Linked DNA regions of Homo sapiens: regions 1 and 2 are each linked to region 3. Evidence: promoter capture Hi-C in 16 types of primary human blood cells and fetal thymus (Javierre and others, 2016). All regions are on one chromosome and are shown on one strand. Each heading gives the region's core, a stretch centred on a gene start or on the middle of the fragment in contact. The rest is flanking DNA. Distances are from core to core; before and after follow the strand shown.

What was found. The method cuts DNA at HindIII sites, captures the fragments that hold promoters and counts their contacts. A CHiCAGO score of 5 or more calls a contact.
Region 1: a fragment that was not itself captured here is called in contact with the fragment with the promoter of SRFBP1 in region 3 in 1 of 17 cell types (total B cells); the score reaches 5.1 in total B cells.
Region 2: a contact is called between a fragment that was not itself captured here and the fragment with the promoter of SRFBP1 in region 3, in 1 of 17 cell types (total B cells). The highest score is 10.8, in total B cells.

What each region holds. Positions count from the first base shown.
Region 1 is chr5:126,802,827-126,806,577 of GRCh38, forward strand. LMNB1 (lamin B1) reads left to right here. Exons shown (of 11, transcript NM_005573.4): 2 at 1,950-2,106; 3 at 2,745-2,870. Among named protein-coding and RNA genes, the nearest start is that of LMNB1, 28 kb to the left of the region's middle. The HindIII fragment of the contact is 851 bases long and covers 1,140-1,990 here.
Region 2 is chr5:126,591,345-126,595,140 of GRCh38, forward strand. ALDH7A1 (aldehyde dehydrogenase 7 family member A1) reads right to left here. Exons shown (of 18, transcript NM_001182.5): 1 at 3,663-3,796; 2 at 2,007-2,060; 3 at 1,320-1,385. Among named protein-coding and RNA genes, the nearest start is that of ALDH7A1, 2.0 kb to the right of the region's middle. The HindIII fragment of the contact is 733 bases long and covers 2,181-2,913 here.
Region 3 is chr5:121,960,689-121,964,486 of GRCh38, forward strand. It overlaps SRFBP1 (serum response factor binding protein 1), which reads left to right and starts at 1,287. Exons shown (of 8, transcript NM_152546.3): 1 at 1,287-1,380. The coding sequence starts at 1,345. RefSeq lists enhancers at 940-1,478, 1,223-1,272. The HindIII fragment of the contact is 3,156 bases long and covers 1-2,663 here.

The DNA.
Region 1 (3,751 bases), core at 315-2,814, 4.8 Mb after region 3:
TATTGGGCAAAATATATCCAAATGAACTATAATTTTATAATGTAGAACTCCATTTAAAAAAAAGTGGTTATTTAGAGGCCGGGTGCAGCAGCTCATGCCTGTAATCCCAGCATCTTGGGAAGCTGAGGCTGGCAGATCACTTGAGGCCAGGTGTTCGAGACCAGCCTGGCCAAAATAGGCAAACCCTATCTCTACTACAAATACAAAAAATTATCTCGGCCTAGTACCGCATGCCTGTAATCCCAGCTACTTGGGAGGCTGAGGCATGAGAACCACTTGAAACCAGGAGGCAGAGGTTGCAATGAGCCGAGATCGCCCCACTGCGCTCCAGCCTAGGTGATGGTGAGATGCCATCTCAAAAAAAAAAAAAAGTGATATTTAGAGAAAAAGAAACTTCAGTTTGAACCTCAGCTTGTTTTTTGTTTTTGTTGTTTTTGAGACGGAGTTTCACTCTTGTTGCCCAGGCTGGAGTGCAATGGCACAATCTCGGCTCACTGCAACCTCTGCCTCCTGGGTTCAAGTGATTCTCCTTCCTCAGCCCCCTGAGTAGCTGGGATTACAGGCATGCGCCTCCATGCCTGGATAATTTTTTTGTATTTTTAGTAGAGACGGGGTTTCTCCATGTTGGTCAGGCAGGTCTTGAACTCCCAACATCAGGTGATCCGCCCACCTCAGCCTCCCAGAGTGCTGGGATTACAGGCATGAGCCACCACGCCCGGCCTGTTTGTTTGTTTTTTTGATACAAGGTCTCTCTCTGTCACCCAGGCTGGAGTGCAGTGGTGCGGTCTCGGCTCACTGCAACCTCCACCTCCTGAGTTCAAGTGATTCTCCTGCCTGAGCCTCTCGAGTAGGTGGGACTACAGGCATTGCGCCACCATGCCCAGCTTAAGTTTTTGTATTTTTTGGTAAAGACGAGGTTTTACCATGTTGGCAAGGCTGGTCTCGAACTCCTGACCTCAAGTGATCCGCCAGCCTTGGCCTTCCAAAGTGCTGGGATTACAGGCATGAGCCACCGTGCCCGGCCCTGAACCTCAGTTTTTTGGTAGTTGGTTTTATAAACTGAAATAATTTTTATGCAAAATATTAGGGAGGCCGTTATTTATTGTTACCTCTATGTAACAAAATGGGAGGTACTTGCAAGCTTGGGGTCAATTAGTTCTTACTAATATCAGGGGAGTTTCAGTATCATGCATTGGGTTATAACATTACTTTTTAAAATAACCTTTTCTTCTCATTTAGTGTAATTTGATTTTCTTTTTTTTTTTGAGACTGGGTCTTGGTCTACTGCCCAGCTGCAGTACAGTTGTGCAGTCATGGCTCACTGCAGCCTCAACCTCCTGGGCTCAAGCGATGTCCCCGCCTAAGCCTCCCAAGTAGCTGGGACTACAAATGTGTGCCACTGTGCCAGGCTCTTTTTTTTTTTTTTTTTTTTGTAGATTTGGGGTCTTGCTATGTTGCCTAGGTTGGTCTTGAATTCCTGGTCTCAAGTGATCCTCCCACATCAGCCTCTCAAAGTGATGTGATTACAGACGTAAGCCACTGCGCTCAGCATGATATCCTGACTTACAGTTCCTGTATGTTTTGGCTTATAATATGCATTATATTTAAAAAATGAATTTTCATTTCTTCAAAAATATCCTGTGTTAGTGTGCCTCTTTATAGAACAAGGGGGACATGCAGTCTCACTCAAGGACAAGCAGGATTCTGGTACATTGGTCTTTAATATGGACGTCTTTGACCCATAGTTATTAGTAATCATGTGACATTGAAAGAGAATGTTAGCCAACAAAAACTCTAGATCCAGTGCTTGTGAATTGCTTCTCTAATTTTGATAGGTGATGGGAGCCTTTATTTAAACTACTTCTTTTGTTTGTCCCTTCAGCAGAGAGGGAGAAGACCTCAAGTCATCAGTATGGTTTGATGTCTTATGCTTTTTAAATCTGTTCCAGCTATGCTAAGAAGGAATCTGATCTTAATGGCGCCCAGATCAAGCTTCGAGAATATGAAGCAGCACTGAATTCGAAAGATGCAGCTCTTGCTACTGCACTTGGTGACAAAAAAAGTTTAGAGGGAGATTTGGAGGATCTGAAGGATCAGATTGCCCAGGTAAGGTCAAGCCTACTCTTGAGCCGTATGTGACAGGTTAATTGCCTCATCTGCCTTAAGCCATAGTTTGATTGATTGATTGATTTTCAAATGTATTTTATTTTTGAAATTTTATATATTTGTTTTCTGATGGTTTACTTGAAGAAAAGTCTTGAGGTAGCTAACATGCAAAACATTATCACCTCCCAGGCATTATATCTGGATTGGCCAGATCTTGTGGTTCCCTTCTTCTTCCCTATTGTGCACACACTCATTCTGTCTCTGCTCTCAAAGCCTATTTTGTTAGTTAGGAAATAAGTAAGAAAAGAGATGCCAAAATGCTGCTCTCCACACAGGAAAAAATGAAAGTGGTTAGCTAAAATAACTAGTTTGATTTTTGAAATGTGAGTGAGTCATACGTCTCTGTTCTATTCCCTGTTGCCAATTAACAATTTGACTGGTCGTTTGGTATGATACTCTGTGGGTGGGACCAGCAAATGAATACCCAGTTCTGTGATAAATGTTAAGATGAAGTAATTATACATTGATAAATATATAGGAATTTTAACACTTGATTTGATTTGATTCATAGATATCTTATGTTCATTATTAAATGATTGCCATGTAATTTTTATCACAATTCTTTTTCCTTGTAATAGTTGGAAGCCTCCTTAGCTGCAGCCAAAAAACAGTTAGCAGATGAAACTTTACTTAAAGTAGATTTGGAGAATCGTTGTCAGAGCCTTACTGAGGACTTGGAGTTTCGCAAAAGCATGTATGAAGAGGTAACTATATATAATTTTGCTTTGTAAAGGAATGGAGGGGTTCTAGAATGACTTTGTCATAGCTAAACATGTAATTATATTTTATTTATGATTTCTTTGCCACAAAAATATATCAGATAAAGAAATAATAAGGTTTGGGGATGGGGAGAAATTTTGCAGGTAGATTATTCAAGCTACTGCTGCTAAAAGACCGCATTTGAGAACTCAAGCTGTTACCGTAAACAGATATGATTTCACTTCATCTTACTTATTTTTGTTTTTTTGTTTTTGTTTTTTTGAGACGGAGTCTTGCTCTGCCGCCAGGCTGGAGTACAGTGGCACGATCTCGGCTCCTTTCAACCTCTGCCTCCTGGGTTCAAGCAGTTCTCCTGCCTCAGCCTCCCGAGTAGCTGGAACTACAGGCGTGCGCCACCACGCCCAGCTAATTTTTGTATTCTTAGTAGAGACGGGATTTCACCATATTGGCCAGGGTGGTCTCGATCTCCTGACCTCGTGATCCGCCCACCTTGGCCTCCCAAAGTGCTGGGATTACAGGTGTGAGCCACCACATCCGGCCTCACTTCATCTTAACTTATAAAGGCTTGGTCACAGCAGCTAATTACTGTCAACATGTTTAAGCATTAGTTATCTATTCCTGCCTAACAAATTACTTCCAAAGTTCATCAACCTAAAACCACAGACTTGTATTAATTTCTTAGTTCCTGAAGGTCAGAATTCAGAGCTGCTAAACTGGGTGGTTCTGTTTCTTGGTCCCATGAGGTTGCAGTACAGCTTTTAACCTGGGCTGGAGGAATGGCATCTGAGCTCTTTCACAGGGCTGTGGGCAGGACGTGTCAGTTCCTCACCTCATGGTCTTCTTCATAGGGCTGCTCATGATATGG
Region 2 (3,796 bases), core at 1,297-3,796, 4.6 Mb after region 3:
AAGATGTGCTTCATGCTTTACACAAAGACGTATCTTGGCTGATAAAAAAAAAAAGCTTCATCCAACCCAGGGCTCTGTTGGACAGGCTGCTACTCTGCAATCCACCCCAACCCCACCCAACCCCCCTTGCAATCACTCACTCAGAGAAAATACTGCAGCTCAGTAGTCCCTCAGCAGTCCCACACCCAACAGCACAGGGTTTAACTCAAATGTATTGAGGCTTTTCCTGTGCCAGGCTCTCCAGTAAGCACTTTAAATGATTAACTCATTTAACCCTCCCAGGAGACAGGCACCCCCAGTCTTTTCTTTTTACAAGACAAAGCACACTGAGGATGGGGGTAGTGGAAAGGTTGGGAAATCAGGCTATCCTAGTTCGCCTTTACTCTCCCCTTCTCAGGAGCCTAGCTCCCACCTAGTGACAAGTCAGTGTGGCCAGCCCAGCACCAGTCACAGTTCCCACATTTGCTCATTTAACCAATGGTGGAGACTCAGAGACCAAGGAGGCTGACTCTGCCTCACAGCCTGATTAGACAGTCAAGGAACATGAGCCTCTGGCCCTGAGAAAGGGATGCTGCCACTGCTCTTTTTTTTTTTTTTTTTTTTGAGATGGAGTCTCACTCTGTCGCCCAGGCTGGATGGAGTGCAGTGATGCTATCTTGGCTCACTGCAGCCTCCGCCTCCCAAGCTCAAGCAATTCTCCTGCCTCAGCCTCCTGAGTAGGCTGGATTACACGCGCCACCACATTCGGCTAATTTTTGTATTTTTACTAGAGACAGGGTTTCACCATGTTGGCCAGGCTGGTCTCGAACTCCTGACCTCAGATGATCCACCCGCCTCAGCCTCCTGAAGTGGTGGGATCACAAGCATGAGCCACCAGGTGCGATCTGCTGTTGTTCTTTAAACCAGGAATGCTGACCTATTGCTGAGATACTCCCAGACAAATCTGGCAGGGGGATAGAGGAGGAGCAAACAAATATTTCTGGCATAGATCTTCTATTCATTTTCTATTTAATTATAAATTCAAGTAATTTCAGTGAAGAATAGTGTTCACAGCTCAAGTTTATACTATACCAGCACAAAGTTTTAATTCATTTAAATTTATCCATTCAATGAATGGCAAGTACAAAAAAGGCACTACCCTAGAAATATGGCAGAGGTGTTTCCAAAACAGCAGGAGCCCTAGTACAGTATCACAGCCCCCAAGGAGCTCACATTTTAACAAGGCGGCACTGACCTGCTTATCAGATGTTTATGTATCTCATTGGTTACAATAGGCAAAGTGATCTTTTCTGAATTCTAGAAACAAAGGCCATACTTACATCTGCCCAGATTTTCCATGCTTCTCTTGCTTTCTTTACAGTTTCTTCATAGTCTGCCACACTGGCCTAAATTAAGAATTAGGGGGACAGAAAGGGGGAAATAAAGAGAAATGATGATGATCTTCTAGAACACAAAAATATTTTCAGAAAAGAGTTGGGAAATCTCTAGGGTTCCCTAACATTTATGGCTGAGAATGATTCCCACAGTCTATACTTCCAAAAACTAGCTAGAACCCGGTAAAACAGGTTGGTATCCAACTATGCTTTAAAACCTTGCTTTTCAAAGCAAAATCTGTCAGCTTCATCTGGGAACATGTAAGGCATATTAGAAATGCAGAACCTTGAGCTCCAACCCAGACTTCGGAAATCAGAAGCTTCATTCTAACAAAATCCTCAGGTACTTCAGAAGCACTGCCTTAAATGGCCCCCTGCCTAATCTTTCTACGCTTCACCTTTTCTATGGTTCTTTCCTTTTCACGCCCCCACCCAAGAGAGGACAGTCTCCCCCAGACAGTCCTAAATGACAAATGAAAAATAAACACATTATTCTCTTCATTTGTGATTTTATATTATTCTTGACCTGCCTAACTGGCTTCTGCCTCTAAAGAAAGCCTGCACAAACTCCTTGTGTATAATTTGAATTAAACACACACACACACACACACACACACACACACACACTCTTACCTGTCGGACTCTTGCTATTGGCTCGTTGTTAGCAGGGCAATAGGTCGTAATAACCTTAAAACAAAAGGATGATGATCATGTATAGAAAACGTAATCCCTTTTGAAGTAAGGGAATAGACCAAACGGGGAAGAAAAACAAGAGAGGAAAAAATGATATAATACCCAAACTCAAAAAGCTTAGGTTAACTTCTGTTACATATAAACCACTCTACAGAGGTTGTCTTTCATTTCTGACTTAAACATTAGAAACTACCTTTCTGCAAAACTCGCCTCTGACATCTCAATATTAGGCATATAAACAAAAGCCTTAACATAAGCAGTTATTTTGTCTCTTTTTCCATTAATAACAGACCAAACTGACTAGTTTTAGTTATTTCTTCTCTTCCTTACTCTGCCCACCCTCTGCTCAGAGATGAAATGGCCAAGGCAGGAAAACTGTTGGAAAGTCCCGTGTCCACACCAACTGGAGAGGTCTCAGGTCAACAATGAAAGGGAAAATCAAGGCACAGCTAAAAAGGCCTCCAAGAGCCTAATGATCAGATACCACACGGAAATCAGGATGAAACACCGAGGTCTGAGGAGCAATTAAAATTATCTGTATCTCCTACAGCCACTGATTACCAAAAGACGTGTTCCCTCTACCAAGGCAGGTTCATTATATAATATACAACGTCCAACAAAGTTTGTTAACTGTTACATAACATCCTCCTATAAAAAACTTTCTTTTAAAAAAAAATCTGGGCGATAATAACCTTACCTTTCCATTGTATTCTATAAAACATTGTTTTGAGCAGTAATGGGTATCAGGCGCGGTGTTAAGCCCTGGGCAATGGAGAAATGCTGAAAATCCAGTCCTCAAAGGAGTTCACAGCCCAACGTACAACATGGCAAGATTTCGGCACGTCCAAGCTTGCAAACTCCCAAAGAATTCAGGAAGGAAGATAACTTAAAACTACACTGAAGAACGTTACCTGCGGTGCACGTCACAGCTGAAGAGCCAGAGTTAAGCTCTAAATTAAGATCAGTTGCACCGCTCAGTGTGCCACATTTCTCACAAGACCATAGATCCCAAGACCATAAGGTTTTAATTTTTTTTTTTTTTTTTTTTTTTGAGACGGAATTTCGCTCTTGTTGCTCAGGCTGGAGTGCAATGGCACGATCTCGGCTCACTACGACCTCCACCTCCCGGGTTCAAGCGATTCTCCTGCCTCAGCCTCCCTAGTAGCTGGGATTACAGGCATGCGCCACCACGCCCGGCTATTTTGTATTTTTTTTAGTAGAGACAAGGTTTCTCCATGTCGGTCAGGCTGGTCTTGAACTCGCTACCTCAGGTGATCCGCCCGCCTAGGCCTCCCAAAGTGCTGGGATTACAGGGGTGAGCCACCGCGCCCGGTAGACCATAATGTTTTAAATATGCGCGGGAAGTTTAGCCCCTACAGCTCCAAAATGACGTCGATTCTGCATAGCACACAAGGACCTAAAATCTAAGTTTTTGTTTTAAAGGCACCCTACACGAGAAAACTTTTACTGTGGAGCTTCAAAATCTCCCATGCTACTACCGCATCCAGCGCCAGCGGGGAGTCGGTAGGTCAGTGCCCGCCCGGCCTCCTCGAGCGAGCCCCGGCGGCTGCAGAGATTTCTTGAGCGCCCGCGTACCTCTCCCCGGCCTCCCCAGCTTCCATTATACACGCCCTCGTTTTCCTCGCGGAGCCCCAGCTCTTTCAGCCACGCATACTGGGGCTGATTGATGAGGAGAGTGGACATGAAGGCGGCAGGCCTGCTCCAAGGTC
Region 3 (3,798 bases), core at 37-2,536:
CGTCACCACGGTCGGCTAATTTTGTATTTTTAGTAGAGACGGGGTTTCTCCACGTTGGTCAGGCTGGTCTCGAACTCCCGACCTCAGGTGATCCGCCCGCCTAGGCTTCCTAAAGTACTGGGATTACAGGCATGAGCCACCACCCTCCGCCGGAAGAAACGTTTTTCCTGCATTTTGAATAAAGGGGCCTGGATTTTCATTTTGCACTGTACCCCAGGTATTATGTAGCTGGACTTGAAGTCCTGTAGCAGTGGACAGTCCCAGGCAAGTGACTCTGGGCGAGGCACTTGGTGCCTCTGAAGTCACTTTCCACATCTGTAAAATAATAGTTCAGAGCAGAGTAGGGTGGCTCACTCCTGTAGTCCTAGTTATTTGGAAGGCTGAGGTGAGAGGATGGCTTGAGCCCAAGAGTTTGAGGCTGCAGTGAGCTATGACTGTGCCACTGCACACCAGCCTGGATGACAAAGAGAGACTGGGTCTCTAACAAAATAATATTAATAAAAGGAAAATAATTTCTATCTTGTTGGATTTCTGTGGAGATTTGGAGCTAATTTATGTAAAGCTCTTGGACCACCATTTGACACATTTTAATGGTCAATACTAGAAGGTGTTGACAATTATATATTACCTAATTCAAACACACTCCCTTACGTCTCCTATGCTTGCCGGCTAATAAACAGCCATTCCCACAGGCAGTACCAAATGTGTATCCTGGTTTTGCTTCAAATGTTTATTCCCTAAATTTAAACCCTTCTATAGTGTGCAGGAAAAAAATGTCCGCACCTCAGCTATAATGTCAGGTTGTAACAAAAAACTGCGAGGATTTAAAAAGGTGTGCTTGTTAGAAAAGCAGAAATCTTCACAAATACTAGATTTAAAAAAATGGAAGCAAAAAATCGTTCATTCAAGTGATCATTTCAGAAGAGCTCTTTCACCGCCGTTCAGCGCCCCCCTAGCCATTAGAGAGAAAAACCAAGGCCGGTACAATGCGAGCGCAGTGTACCAAGGGAACACACACACACACACACACACACACACACACACACACACACACACACAAACCGAATCTTGAAAAACTAGACGTTGCCCAGCTACCAGCCCCCGTCTGGTTTCCATAGGAACGCGCAATTCCGTTGCGTAGCCCTCTGCGCCGGTAGTTGTTCTGTCTCAGTTCCGGTTTTCCCTTCCAAGCGTCAATGTTTCTTGTTCCCAGGCGGCAGCTAGAGCAGAAGGCGGATGAGTTTTGGACAGAAGAGGCTTCCGTTGAGGGGCGTGGCGACGCAGCCGCGGTCTGAGAGACCGGTTCACGTGCAGGCAGCGGCGGATCATATTCCTTCATCTACCATGGCTCAGCCGGGAACTCTGAACCTCAATAACGAGGTGAGCGCCGAGGAACCTATGGGGCTGACTTTAAGGGTCCTCAAAACCAGCTCTTTTGAGACGCGTGGTCGGAGGCGGGCATAGAGGGTGCGGTTGGAGGAACTTTCGTGGTGGGCCCAGGCGGGTTTCCCGCAACTTGGAGTTTGGCAACCGGTAATTTCCCTTTTCGGTCTCCAGGTGACTAAAGTGAGAGACATGTGTCAGGCCCCACGAATTTATGTCTGTGGGACTTTGGGAAGAACCTTTAGCCTGTACGTTCAATATTCTCGTCTGTAAAGCGGAACTCAAGATAGTTCGTCCCAGGGTTGTGAGATTAACTGAGATACGTAAAGTATTTGCAAGTGCCTGACCCTTAATAAACTTTCAGTACACATTACCTGCTCTTTATTGCCTGTCGAAAATGAAAGAGAGAAAGTAAGAGCTGTAGCTTCTAAGAAATTGGTGGTCTTGAATGAGACTGTATGCTCAGTACTTCGTTTCCTCTTCCAGTTAGTGTCCTATTTCTTTGCTTCCGTTTACAGCAGAACTTCAATAAAGAGCTGTTTATACTTGCTATCCTCAATTCTTTTTTCTGCTTTTTCAGTCCATTCTCATCAGACATTTGTTCTCACCACCGTCACTTCCATAGTGTGCGGTGTCGACAAAATACCATTTCTACCACTTATCCCCCTCTGGTTTCTGCTTCTATTCAACAAAATAATGTCATCCAAAGTCTTAAAGTAAGCTGGAAACATAAGGATCGAGTAAGGACCTCACAGTTAGATACAGAAAGGAAATTCTTTATCCCGTTTATGAGCAAGTCACTGTTTAGATTACACACAGTAGTGTAAGGGATATTTCATATTTTCTAGTAACCTATACTCAAGTAAGAGAGCTAAGCAACACTCACCTGTGTTACAGAACAATGTGTGAAGAATGCCTCCAAAACCTAGTAATGCAGAAAAGTTTCCAAAGGCGGCAAAATGAAATGGGTGATACTTGTCCTTGGTCTTTAGGGATCTTGCACAGGAATTGCAGTCAGTGATTCAGGAAAGGGGAAGAAGTCATTCCAGGCAGAGGGACTGGTATAAGCAGGAAAGGGCTAGTAGCAGAAGAACCCGTGGGTAATACAGGGATAAGTAACTCTTCACTGATGGGAACTTGTGAGATGAAGAAGGAAATAAAACTGAAATATATTCTCTGCTGCCAGATTAACGAGTCAGGATTTCAGTTGACAGTGGAGTACAGGATATGCTGAAGAGGGAAGCTGAAAGTAGTTACTATTTACTCATAAACATACATTAAGCTTGTGCTTTGTGCCAGAAAGCGTTTGGTGGGCTATTTTGCATTAGGTTACCTGTGATGTATGAAAGATCAGAGTAATGTCCCTGGGATTTCAACCCCAGGGAGCTTCATATCAAATTTTGTAATGACTTTGATGATGGAAATGACAGGGGATGAGTCATTAAAGACTCTTTTCACACTTAGCTAACTTTTGTTCTTCTTCAAAACAGTTAAAATTTGACCTTTAGGAAACCTTCATTAACTCCTCTCGGTCTGGGTTAGGTGTCTGTTCTTTGTGCACCCAGATTGCTTTCTCCTCTGGAAACACTTATGTAACTGTTTCTGTCTTCCTGTGTTTATGTGTCTATCATGTGTAGCACATATGTTTACTAGGTGATTACATGAATTTGTGAAAGCAGGAACTACACACATCCACCACTGAAGTCTAGTGTGTTCTAATGTGAAGGAGATAAAAAGGACAGAAAAAAGTGGAGATGATGGAGGATATTATAATTTAAAATTAGTGGGAAAAAAAACCCACAAAAGGAAAGAGAGATTTATCTACATAAAAATTGAATAACCTACCAAAGAAAAGAAATGACAACCAACTAGAAAAAAAAAATACAGCAGATATGACAAAGGGCTAATGCCCTTAATAGGAAATACCTCATAGAAATTAAAAGAAACCATCTCAGAAAATAGGCAGAAGAAATGAATTAACTTCTTCAAGGAGGAAATGTATCTGAAAAATAATTTGAATTCGCTTTCAATCTTTTCAATTCTTTTCCATCACCACTAGAATCCTAGTACAGCTACTGTACTAGCTTCCCAACTACTTACATTGACTCTTCTCAAACTTTAATCTTTTTTTTTTATATGTATACTTTAAGTTCTGGGGTACATGTGCAGAACGTGCAAGTTTGTTACATAGGTATACATGTGCCATGGTGGTTTACTGCACCCATTAACCTGTCGTCTACATTAGGTATTTCTCCTAATGCTATCCCTCCCCCTTTCCCCCCACCCGACAGGCCTTGGTGTGTGATGTTCCCTTCCCTGTGTCCATGTGTTCTCATTGTTCAACTCAAACTTATGAGTGAGAACATGCAGTGTTTGGTTTTCTGTTCTTGTGTTGCTTTGCAGAGAATGATGGTT